Linked DNA regions of Homo sapiens: region 1 is linked to region 2. The links are contacts of gene promoters, found by promoter capture Hi-C in human tissues and cell types (Jung and others, 2019). All regions are on one chromosome and are shown on one strand. The core of a region is centred on a gene start or on the middle of the fragment in contact, and the rest is flanking DNA. Distances in the headings are between cores, read along the strand shown. Region 1 holds the start of MIEF1 (mitochondrial elongation factor 1). Region 2 holds the start of PDGFB (platelet derived growth factor subunit B).

Region 1 (5,835 bases), core at 1,901-4,400, 260 kb before region 2:
CACAAGCTCAACAGACAGACACGGACCTTACTTGAAAAGTTAATTCAACTTGTTCCAGTTTAAACTGCTTCTCCATGACACGCTCTCCACTCAGGTTCTGCTGCATAAGCTTACAGCCTACTAGCAGGTAAGAACTCCACCTCCAATCGGGACTGTCATGAAGGAACCCCATTGCTTAATGGGTACAGAGTTTCAGATGTGCCAGATGAAAAGGGTTCTGGGGCTCTGTTACCCAACAATGTGAATATACTTACTACTACTGAACTGTACACTTTAAAATGGTTAAGATGGTTAAAATAAAAAACAAAGAAGGAACACAGACCTGGTGGGCAGAACTAGGGATGGAGAATTTCAGCTCTGCCAATATTTCAGGCAAGTTATTTAACCTGTCTCGCTAGATACAAAAATGGGAACAGAAATGCTCATCACCCTAATATAGTTAAGGATGATGAATAATGGAGGCCTTGCGGCTTCCTAGGATGACAGCACAGAAGTGTGAAAGTTCCAACTTATTTTAATTGAAAAAGCCATAGGCCTTTTTATAAACCTATCTTGCTTGAGTATGTACGAGACTAGGTAGCAGATATTGAGTGTGTATTATGTGCTGGCAATTTTACACTTATTATTAATTCCCTCAATCCTCACAACAACAATCCCATGAGATCAGTAATATTATCCCAAATTTAAAGGATGAAGAAACTGAGTAGTTTCTGTAACTGACCCAAGGTCACTGTGTCAGTAAAGTATGTGACCAAGATTTGAACCCTGAGATCACGCGGTGCGGAGAACTAATCTACAGGGGTCCTAGGTACTTGCTCCACACCTTGTTCCCATCTCCACTCCATTAACCCCCAGACCATATGCTTCTGGGGGACATTTGGGCTCATTCACTGCTGCATCCCCAGGGTGTGCAGTGTTTGATGCATAGGGAGTATATGTTGTGGGAATGAAGTATTAACTCTACGGCGTTTTGTTTCTTGGTTTTTTTGAGGGGGTAGTGATAGCAGCGTGTAGCCCAACTCACAGCCAAAATATATTAGGAACACAAAGATTTCAAGGAACGCCCTAATTCCCTCCTAGATCCGCTAGCCAACCCTCCCTGTGCAGACAGGCTCCCATGGGCATCACCCCACCCCTGGCCCTGTACTGCCAAAGGCAGATATGCCAATCCTAAGTGGCTGAGAAGAACCAAAAGTCATTACATAAGGCTCTCTTCCTACTTTCCCTCCCCCAGTTAAAAGCAGCACCCTCCACCCAGCTGGCAGGCCTTACACCCAGTTACTCTTCATCTTTCTCTCTCCTCCTCCTGCCTCAGCCAACTGATCACCAAGTCCCACTGCTGTACACACTGTGTTTATATGTGGCCACCCCCACCCCTCGGTCCCTCAATCTGATCTGGCTACATCCACTGCCTCTAGTATCTCTCATCAATTTATTCTTCACACTGCCACTGGTATGCTCCCTCTACGATACAAATGTGGCTATGTCATTCCTCTGTTTACAGAGCTGTGATGGTCCCCACATAAGAAGATATACATTACAATCTCAACTTGGAGTCAACGTCCTTCCAGACCAGGCCCAGCCTCAACTCTGGCTATTTGCCTTACAGGGGTACCATGCTGGCCACATCAGACTTAAGTTTCCAGACTACAAAGTGCAGTTTCTGGACAGGCAGAGCTGTTTGAACCTATAATCCCAAAGCTTTGGGAGGCAAGGGTGGGAGGATCGCTTGAGGCTAAGAGTTTGAAAGCAGCCTGGGCAACATAGCAAGACCGTCTCTACAAAAAAAATAAATAAATAAAAAATTAGCTGAGCACATTGGTACATGCCTGGCGTCCCAGCTACTCAGGAGGCTGAGAAGGGAGGACTGCTTGAGGCCAGGCATTCAAGGTTCCAGAGAGCTATGATCATGCCACTGTACTCCAGGTTGGGCGAGAGCGAGACCCCGTCTCTTTTTTTTTTGGAGACGGAGTGTCACTCTGTCACCCAGGCTGGAGTGCAGTGGCGCGATCTTGGTTCACTGCAACCTCCACGTGCCGGGTTCAAGCAATTCTCCTGCCTCAGCCTCCTGAGTAGCTGGGACTTAAGGCATGCGCCACCATGCCCGCCTAATTTTTTGTATTTTTGGTAGAGACAGGGTTTCACCATGCTGACCAGGCTGGTCTCGAACTCCTGACCTTGTGATCCTCCTGCCTTGGCCTCCTAAAGTGGTGGGATTACAGGCGTGAGCCACCGCACCGGGCCAACCCTGTCTCTTAAAAAAGAAAATTGCAGTTCCCACTCCAGGCATTTGCTTATTCCTGCCCTGCTGCTGGTAAACCTCTATTTCTCATTTGAGGCAGACCTCAAATGTCCTCTTTTTTCCCCCCCACCCCAGAGACAGGGTCTCATTCTGTCACCCAGCCTGGAGTGCAGTGGTGCAATCATACCTCACTGCAGCCTCAACCTCCTGGGCTGAAGCCATCCTCCTGCCTCAGCCTCCTGCAGAGTTGGGACTATAGGTGCACACCAGTGCACCTGGCTCTGCACTGATTTCTAATGACTAAAAGGATGACTTTGATCCTTTTCTCGGTCCCTTGCAACAAAAAATAAGGAAACCTACAGGAACGAGGGCCTACGTACCTGAGGCTTCTTAATACATCTGTAAGATGGGGATGGAAGAGAGCAGGAGTGTCTACAGAAGGCACCTTTGTCCTCTTTCCCTTGGAGGATCCTAAATGATCCTCCCCAATTTGCCGTTGAGAAAGACCAGGCCCTTCTCCAGCTGCCTCTCCCGGGCCTCAGCGTCCTCTAGCTTCTGATTTTTTCGGAATTCACGGCGGATGGAGGCAAAGTAGAAGTCTCGATCAGTGTAGCGAAGCTGTCGGCCCTGGCGCAACAGAGCCCGATAGAGACTCAGCACCGCCTCTCGGCTCCACGGGGCCATGGGGGACTGGCAGGGGCTGGGTGTCACACTATAAACAGAAGGAAAGACATACAAGCCTAGTATCAGAATTAATAACAAAAGGACCTGTAGAGACTATGTGAGGGCTTTTTAATCCAAGTTCCAGAGACCCCCCGCTCCAGGTCACCGTATGACTTAATGGCAAGACTAGAACTAGAGACCCCAGCCTCTGGATGCCCATTCTGGAAACATACAGGTTGTGGTTCACCAGGGCTCAAATCCTGGCCCTGCCACTTACTTGCCATATGACTTTGGGCAAAGGACTGAACCCCCGCTGAGCACCAGCTTCCTCACTTATAAAATGGAGATTAGGATATTATGGCAATAGTACCTACCACATAGGATTATTTTGAGAACTGTGCACGTAATGAACGGTAATAGAACTTCACCACAGGGGGTGATCTAGGAGGGTTGAAGACAAGCACTCAGCCATACTTGAATCCTGGCACCAGCACTTACGAGCTGCATGACCGTGGGCAAGTCTCCTAACCTCTCTGTGACTGTCTCAGTTCCTCATCTGTGAAGTGAGGATAAAAATCATATTTTGCCCATACGGTTGGCATAAGCACTAAATGAGTTTAATGTATGTGAATATGTTTAGAACAGCACTTGGCACACACGAAGCACTCTATCAACAGCAGATATTATTAGTAGCACCTAGCCAGGTTTGTAAATGCTCAATAAATAATTACATTTAAGTATAAACTGCCACTGCCTTCCTTCAGTAACAATAAACCCTTACACAAGCATATCTGTAAAGTGCTTTGTTGCCCATGACCACATTTAAATTAAGAATCTAGAAGGTGGTCAGGGTTCTTAGTAACAGTAAATGCTTATTGCATTATATTGCACTATATACAACGTGCAATGTTCGAAGCATGTCTCACATAACAACTCATTCTGTCAGCTACCCTAGGGGTCAACATTACCCCATTTTAAGTGGAGGAAACAATCTCCCAGAGGGAAGTAACTTGCCCGCGGGCCCACAGCTGTCAAGGGGAGGGCTGCACTCCTGACCCCAACTCTGCCTGCCTCTGGAATGAGTTACCCTTTGCTGGAGCCGGACCGTGTGTACAGCACTTCTGGGTGCTCCACGAACTTTCCCAGCACAGCGCTTGGCACATACAAGGGGCTCAAAATTATGCGTAACGGAGAGAATTTCACAACGTCCCTATGTGGAAGAAATGATCACCTCCGTTTCAGAAATAAAGAAATGACACCAAGTGGGGGAAGTATTTGGCTGGAAAAAAAGATTGGACTTTGGGCCCAAAGTCCGCGAGCCCTTAGCCTCCGGCCTTGCTAACTTCCTGCGCAAGCTTGAGCAAGCCACCATCCCTGCCCATTTTTCCTCAACTGTTTAAGAGATCCCTCGGCCCTAAGGACCTCCCGATGCAGAAAATCAACAGAAGTGTTTGATGCTGTAAAAGGCGACTGTCACGGCGAGGGCTGTAACTACAAGGTCGCTGGGCGACTGGGCGGCTGAGCCCCAGCCAGTCTGCACTTCACCAACCGTGGGGGCCGGGCCGGGGTGCGGAGGCCCAGAGGCCAGGGCAGGCCTGCTTCGGGGCACTGGAGGTCTCCGAGGTTGGGGCGGGGCGGGGCAGCCGAGGGGTCTCCCAGGGGAAAGTCCAGGGCGGGATGGGGCGAGACCCCCGGCTGCATGCTGGTATCCTGACTCCGGGCCGCATGCGAGGCGCCGGCAGCAGCCTGAGAGGAGGCGCTGCAACCTCCCCGCCGCCCAGCCGCCGGCGGCCCTCATTCCTTCTCTCACTCACCCGCAGGCCGTGCGCGCTACCACTCCGCAGGACTCGCCTCTGGCCGGGTACCTCTCCCCGGGTCACCCATCAACATGGCCCCTTCACTTCCGGGACACGACCTTGCGCACGGAGCTGCGAAGGGGCTGAAGGGAGCACGAGGGCGAGTGGAGGCGGAGGGACTTCCGGTCTTCTCCAAGCTCTCTCTCGGGCCCCGCCCCCTGCGCATGATTCCGCCCCCCAATCCTGAGCCCCGCCTCCGTGTGTGACCTCACCAAGGGACTGGCCTGCAGAGGCCACTCGCGCCCCGCCCCCAGAGGACTCCGGTGTCCGGGTCCGGCTGTGGGTACCGGGGTGGTCCCGATGCTGGCAGAAGTTCAGAGGGCAGGAGGTAGCCTCGCTGTCCAACAAGGCTGCCGCACCGGGTAGGCCCCTCACCTGCTGGCAACCCCTTAGCCTGTCGGGGTACCTGGCCAGCCTCCTGTACTGTATATGCTGATCTCTGGCTGGGGCCCTGGGGTACCTGAGGGAATTCTAACACTAATATTCAGAGCTCCTCAAAACCCATTTTCTCAGATCGCCTTCTTTTCATCCCTCCATGCTGTTCCTACTCCCCAGGCCCCATGGCTTCTGGCAAACTCCTACCCTTCCTTCAAAGTCTACCTCAAATGCCCCCCTTCACTGGGAAATCTCTCCCAGCCCCTTCCTCGCCTCCCTCTAACACACTCACGTGCCTTCTTTGGGCCCCACGGAAATGTCTGCACATCTTACGCCTCATAATCTGTTCAACAACAAAACGTATTTCTTGGCGCCTACCATATGCCAGGCACTGTAATTTATCCATTTGCTTCTCTGTCTCTCACTAGATTTGAGGACGGAGGCCGTGTCTCTATGGAAGCTCCCTCCCCCAACTGCCTCCCTCCATGCCTGGCTCTGCCAAGCCCAGGGCCTGGGGCTTTGGAGTCCGGGGCCACCGGGGCCACCGCTGGCTCCTAGTTCCAGTTCCACCACTTAGGGACAGCTGCCCTCTGCCAAGTTTCCTAACCTCACCCAGCCTTGGGGCTGTGGTGAGGATTAAAAGGTAATATCTACCAGTAGAGGGGTGGGCAATTGCAGAATAGTCAGGCTATCTGATAA
Region 2 (6,060 bases), core at 3,561-6,060:
TGTGTGTGTGTGCGCGCGCGCGCAGAGCCTGCAGTAATAACCATCACTGTGATGACCAACATCTGTGGGGTGCTCACTCCAGGCTTTATCACTTCAGGTGAATTAACTCATTTAACCCAGTGAGGTAGGGACTATTGTCCCTACGACTTACAGAGGAGGAACGTGAGGCTCAGGAAGGTTAAGGAATTTGCTTAAGGTCACAGAGTTAGTAGATGGTAGGGCAGGGCTTTGAACCCAGGTGGTCTTTGACGGGAAGCCTAGTCCCTTGCCCTCTCTCAGCCTCACTTTCCTCATCTGTACAATGGGCATATACGATGGCAATGCCTTCTCCCTGGGCGACTGTGAGGGTGAGGCAGGCAGAGGGGAAGGAAGTGCTTTGTGGACAGCCAAAGGCCCTGTAGACAGGGAGGCAGGGGATGGGGCAGCAAGGGGCATGGGGGAGCTGATGAGGGCCACGCGGAGTGGGGTAGGGCTTGGAGTTTCAGACCATTTGTGGCATGGTCTTGGACGGTCTCCAGCTTAGAGCCTCACTTCCTCTCCATCAAGTATGGAGAAGCAGAGCTGCCTGGCCCAGGTGTTGCTGGCCCCTCTCAGTGGCGGGGAGGCTCCCAGTGATCATCGCTCTCACCTTTCTGGACTTGAGGGCGTGAGTTTGCCCCCGGGATGGAACCCAACTCCTTCCTTGGTATTTCTTCACCCCAGCCAGTGTCCTGGACCCCCACGCCCAGGGTGTAAGATGCTCTTCATGGATGAGGGCTTGGATAGCTCTGAGCACACAGTCTAAAAAGCCCCCAACCTTGGGCAGCACCCCCATCCCCCACGGCTGTGGCCACTCTTTTTCCCTTTGGCTCAGATCTGTCCTGGAGTGGAGGGTGGAGAGTTACGGGGGTGTGGGCGCCCCCATCCCTAGCTCTGCTGGAGAACCTTATTTCCCAGTGGCCTGAACGCGAAGATGGGCGGGGGCCTTCCCAGTTCTCTCATTCAAGTGCTCCTCAGACCCAGCCCTGATGAAGTTCCGAGGTCAGATGAGACCACGTGCATTCAGGGTGGTGTGGCTTCAGACCCTTCCCAGTTCTGATACCTCCAGAAGGGGTGCCCTTCAGGGGCCCTGTGCTTCCAAGCTTAGAGGCTCATGCTACAAGCCCCTCCCCAACTCTTTCCACCCTTTAGGAAGGGCCTGGCATCTCTGCAATAACTGGTCAGGACTCAGAAAGAGAAATTGGCAGGATTTTAATCATTTATTCATTCCTTCAGCGAGCGGCACTTCCTGAGCAGCCACTGTATGCTAGGAGCTGGCAGGAGGCCCTTGAACACTCTGGACTCAGTCTAGTGCTAGATTGATGATCAGGCCATGACGATGCCAGGTGTGCATGCTGTGGAGCCTGGAACAAGTGCCAAGCCTGGTGGGCCTTCTGGAGGAGGTGCCTGCTACACCCAGCCTGGCAGGAGGCAGACGATCAGGTGTTATTAAAAAAAAATTTTTAGGCTGGGTGTGGTGGTTCATGCCTGTAATCCCAGCACTTCGGGAGGCTGAGTGGGGCAGATCACTTGAGGTCAGGAGATCGAGAGCACCCTGGTCAACATGGTGAAACCGTCTCTACTAAAAATACAAAAATTAGCTGGGCATGGTGGCAGGCGCCTGTGGTCTCAGCTACTCGGGAGGCTGAGGCAGGAGAATCGCTTGAACCTGGGAGGCAGAGGTTGCAGTGAGAAGAGATCGCACCACGGCACTCCAGCCTCGGCGACAGACCGAGACCCCGTCTCTGAGATGGCTCACTGCAGTCTTGAACTCCTGGGCTCAGGGGATTCTCCCTCCTGACTCAGCCTCCTGAGTAGCTGGGGCCACACTCAGATATATATATATATATATATATATATATATATATATATATATATATATATTTTTTTTTTTTTTTTTTTTTTTTTTTGGTAATTTTTTTTAAGAGATGGGATCTCGCTATGTTGCTGAGGCTGGTCTCGAACTCCTGGCTGCACATGATCCTCTGGCCTCAGCCTCCCAAATTGCTGGGAATACAGGGGTGAGCCACCGTGCCTGGGGAGGTGTTCTTTACAGACTGTTCCTCTGCACAGAGAAGGTACAAGAAAGGAGCCCTTAGCACAACATTCAGGCCCAGGTGTCACGCAGGTGTCACGTAGCATTCAGGCCCAGGTGTCTGCTGGGCCCTCTTCTGCCACTTCTAACCCATGTACTGGCACCTGCACTGCAATGATTTGGGTCTATCTCACTGAGAGCATGGGAAGTCCCTGAGTGCCGAGGCTGGGACTCCTTCCTCATTCCATTTCTCAGCGCTTCACACAGGGTCTGCAAACAGTAGGCGTTCTACGATGCTGCTCTGAGTAGCCTTCCCTCTCCCTCAACTTGTACCTAAGTCAGAGTTCATATGGGTCCATCACTTTTTAGCTGGCAGAGCAGGTTCCCACATATTAATGCATGTGGCGCTCACCAAAGCGCTGTGTCAAAAGTGTCATCATTGTCATCAGCATCACCTGCCAGAAAATTGCACAGCACGGTGGTCTCAGCATGTGGGCTCTGTAGCTGGACTGCTCAGATTCAAGTCCTGGCCTTACCACTTACGGGCTGTGTGACCTTGAACAAGTGTATTGGCCTCTCTGTGCTTCCATTTCCCCATCTGTAAGATAGGAATAACACATCTCACAGGAGCATGGAGAGGCTACAGGTAGAGTAAGAAAAACACTAGCTACCACATAGTCAGCTCACTAATCATGGTAGTTGTTACCATTCTATTTATAGAAGACACAGAAGGTCAAGGTCAAATGACCCAGCTGTCCGGTGGAAGAGGGTTTTTATCTCTGAGTCGTTAGACTTCAAATCTAGTGTTTGGGGGTTATCTCCTCGTCCCGCTGCCCCATCTCCCTTGTCACCCTGTCTCCTAATTTATCTGTTTATACATCTGGTTGTCCTTCTCAATGGGGCTCTTCAAAGGCAGGGGCCTGCATTAGGCTGGTTCACACCTGTCTCCCCAGTGCCTGGAGCAGTGCGGGGCCACCAGTGAACTTGAAGGCTGCATGGAAGGTTCCAGGCGCTTGCTTCCTGCTAAGGTGTTTTGCTGAGCGCCTCCACATGGAGGACCTCATGGGAGCCTCCAGACCACTCCAGGAGCAGGGTAAAAATTCTCTACAACTGCACTGAGGTACAACAAACTGCACACATTTTGTTGTGATGTACGTATACACCCATAAGCCCATCACCACAATCAAAAATGACAAACATTTCCATCACCACTAAAATTTTGCCATGCCTCTCTGTTCTCTCTCACTCCTTCCCATTATAGATTTATTTTTATTTCTTTAGAGATAGGGTCTTGCTCTGTTGCCCAGGCTGGAGTGCAGTGGCACAGTCACAACTCACTGCAGCCTCAAACTCCTGGGCTCAAAACGATCCACAGTCTCCTGAGTAGCTGGGACTACAGGAGCTTGTTACCACACCCAGCTCCAGTTTATAAATTCATCTCCAGTTTATAAAGGAGGAAACCGAGGTACTGAGAGGTTAAAAAACCTTCCTGCAGACACTTGTCCAGCAAGTGGCCACTCCAGGATTTGGACCAAGGTGATGTGTCTTCAGGCTGTGTCTCTGCCACTGTGCCACGCTGCTGGGTGGTAGGCAGCAGTGGGTGGGTGCCTGCAGTGGTCTGTAAAGACCACCTGAGATGTCCTTCCTCCTCTGTTCCACCCTGTCCAGGTCCAAGAAGACAGTCTATGAAGAGAGAGCAGGTGTGACTCTCTCAGTGTGCTCCTCTGTGAGAAGCAGGCTGACATCCCAAAGGGAAGGGCGGATAACAGAGACAGTGCAAGCGGAGGAGATGAGGGTGCCTCAAAGCCGGGAGGCTGGGTGATGCAGGAGCCTGCGTGTCCCGAGGGGGGTGCTGGGCCCAGTGTGAGTACGTGTGACTGTGACTGAGACAGTGTGACTGCTGAAGGCAGGGACACAGCAGCTCCCTGACTGGGGGCAGAAGGCGTTAACTGTGTGAAGGCTGGTTGTGGGTGGGTGGGCTCTGGGCCTCGAACCCGGGGGCTGAGGGAGATAGTAAACAGCAGGGTGACTGACGGGAAGATCATGTTGGTAGCCCTGCGAAGATGCTGCAGGGCTGTGGGGGTTTGTGTGACTTTGCAGTTCAACAAATTCAAATTCAGCCAACGCTGGCAGGGCCTGTTGTGCCAGGCAACCAGCTAGGAGGAGGAGACTCGGACCCAGCTTGCAGCTGAAGGGCGCTGGCTGCCGGGTTCTGTGGGTTCACCTTGCGGTGTCTTCCCTTGCTAACACTGAGTCCTTACAATAGCCCCATCTCCAGGTTGAGGCTAGATGGAGGGGACAGAGGGAAGTGACTTGCCCAAGGTGACCCAAGCTCCCGAGTGCCAGGGCAGGATCTGAATTCAGGCTCTCAGACTGCAGAGCCTGAGTCCCTCCCTGCCATGCCTGTGCCAGGGTGGAAATGTCTGGTCCTGGAGGGGAGCGTGGACTCCTGGCCTTGGCTCTGGAGACATCCCCCTAGACCACGTGGGCTCCTAACCTGTCCATGGTCACTGTGCTGAGGGGCGGGACGGTGGGTCACCCCTAGTTCTTTTTTCCCCAGGGCCAGATTCATGGACTGAAGGGTTGCTCGGCTCTCAGAGACCCCCTAAGCGCCCCGCCCTGGCCCCAAGCCCTCCCCCAGCTCCCGCGTCCCCCCCCTCCTGGCGCTGACTCCGGGCCAGAAGAGGAAAGGCTGTCTCCACCCACCTCTCGCACTCTCCCTTCTCCTTTATAAAGGCCGGAACAGCTGAAAGGGTGGCAACTTCTCCTCCTGCAGCCGGGAGCGGCCTGCCTGCCTCCCTGCGCACCCGCAGCCTCCCCCGCTGCCTCCCTAGGGCTCCCCTCCGGCCGCCAGCGCCCATTTTTCATTCCCTAGATAGAGATACTTTGCGCGCACACACATACATACGCGCGCAAAAAGGAAAAAAAAAAAAAAAAGCCCACCCTCCAGCCTCGCTGCAAAGAGAAAACCGGAGCAGCCGCAGCTCGCAGCTCGCAGCTCGCAGCCCGCAGCCCGCAGAGGACGCCCAGAGCGGCGAGCGGGCGGGCAGACGGACCGACGGACTCGCGCCGCGTCCACCTGTCGGCCGGGCCCAGCCGAGCGCGCAGCGGGCACGCCGCGCGCGCGGAGCAGCCGTGCCCGCCGCCCGGGCCCCGCGCCAGGGCGCACACGCTCCCGCCCCCCTACCCGGCCCGGGCGGGAGTTTGCACCTCTCCCTGCCCGGGTGCTCGAGCTGCCGTTGCAAAGCCAACTTTGGAAAAAGTTTTTTGGGGGAGACTTGGGCCTTGAGGTGCCCAGCTCCGCGCTTTCCGATTTTGGGGGCCTTTCCAGAAAATGTTGCAAAAAAGCTAAGCCGGCGGGCAGAGGAAAACGCCTGTAGCCGGCGAGTGAAGACGAACCATCGACTGCCGTGTTCCTTTTCCTCTTGGAGGTTGGAGTCCCCTGGGCGCCCCCACACGGCTAGACGCCTCGGCTGGTTCGCGACGCAGCCCCCCGGCCGTGGATGCTCACTCGGGCTCGGGATCCGCCCAGGTAGCGGCCTCGGACCCAGGTCCTGCGCCCAGGTCCTCCCCTGCCCCCCAGCGACGGAGCCGGGGCCGGGGGCGGCGGCGCCCGGGGGCCATGCGGGTGAGCCGCGGCTGCAGAGGCCTGAGCGCCTGATCGCCGCGGACCCGAGCCGAGCCCACCCCCCTCCCCAGCCCCCCACCCTGGCCGCGGGGGCGGCGCGCTCGATCTACGCGTCCGGGGCCCCGCGGGGCCGGGCCCGGAGTCGGCATGAATCGCTGCTGGGCGCTCTTCCTGTCTCTCTGCTGCTACCTGCGTCTGGTCAGCGCCGAGGTGAGTTGCCACGGCGGCTGGGGCTGGTTCTTCATTCATTACCTTCGCCCCCCCCTTCTGACCGCCCCCTCCTCTCCCTGCAGTGAACTTTGGACCCTTGCAGCCCGCGAGCCTGACGCCGGGCGCTGGGTGACCTCTTCGGGCTGGGAGCGAGGTCCGGGGGTGACAG

Evidence for each region. The method cuts DNA at HindIII sites, captures the fragments that hold promoters and counts their contacts. A contact is called where the count stands out against the background at its distance.
Region 1: a contact is called between a fragment that was not itself captured here and the fragment with the promoter of PDGFB in region 2, in 2 of the 25 tissues and cell types used here (dorsolateral prefrontal cortex and lymphoblastoid cells).

The regions. Positions count from the first base shown.
Region 1 is chr22:39,501,322-39,507,156 of GRCh38, reverse strand. It overlaps MIEF1 (mitochondrial elongation factor 1), which reads right to left and starts at 4,867. Exons shown (of 6, transcript NM_019008.6): 1 at 4,720-4,867; 2 at 2,623-2,954. MIURF (mitochondrial elongation factor 1 upstream open reading frame) reads right to left here and starts at 2,926. Exons shown (of 1, transcript NM_001414695.1): 1 at 2,714-2,926. The coding sequence starts at 2,926. The coding sequence ends at 2,714. LOC105373035 (a long non-coding RNA gene) reads left to right here and starts at 4,997. Exons shown (of 3, transcript XR_938263.4): 1 at 4,997-5,123; 2 at 5,565-5,835. RefSeq lists a silencer at 4,469-4,578 and enhancers at 4,086-4,585, 4,679-4,728, 4,586-5,087. The HindIII fragment of the contact is 4,490 bases long and covers 906-5,395 here.
Region 2 is chr22:39,243,732-39,249,791 of GRCh38, reverse strand. It overlaps PDGFB (platelet derived growth factor subunit B), which reads left to right and starts at 4,810. Exons shown (of 7, transcript NM_002608.4): 1 at 4,810-5,891. The coding sequence starts at 5,829. The HindIII fragment of the contact is 11,810 bases long and covers 1-6,060 here.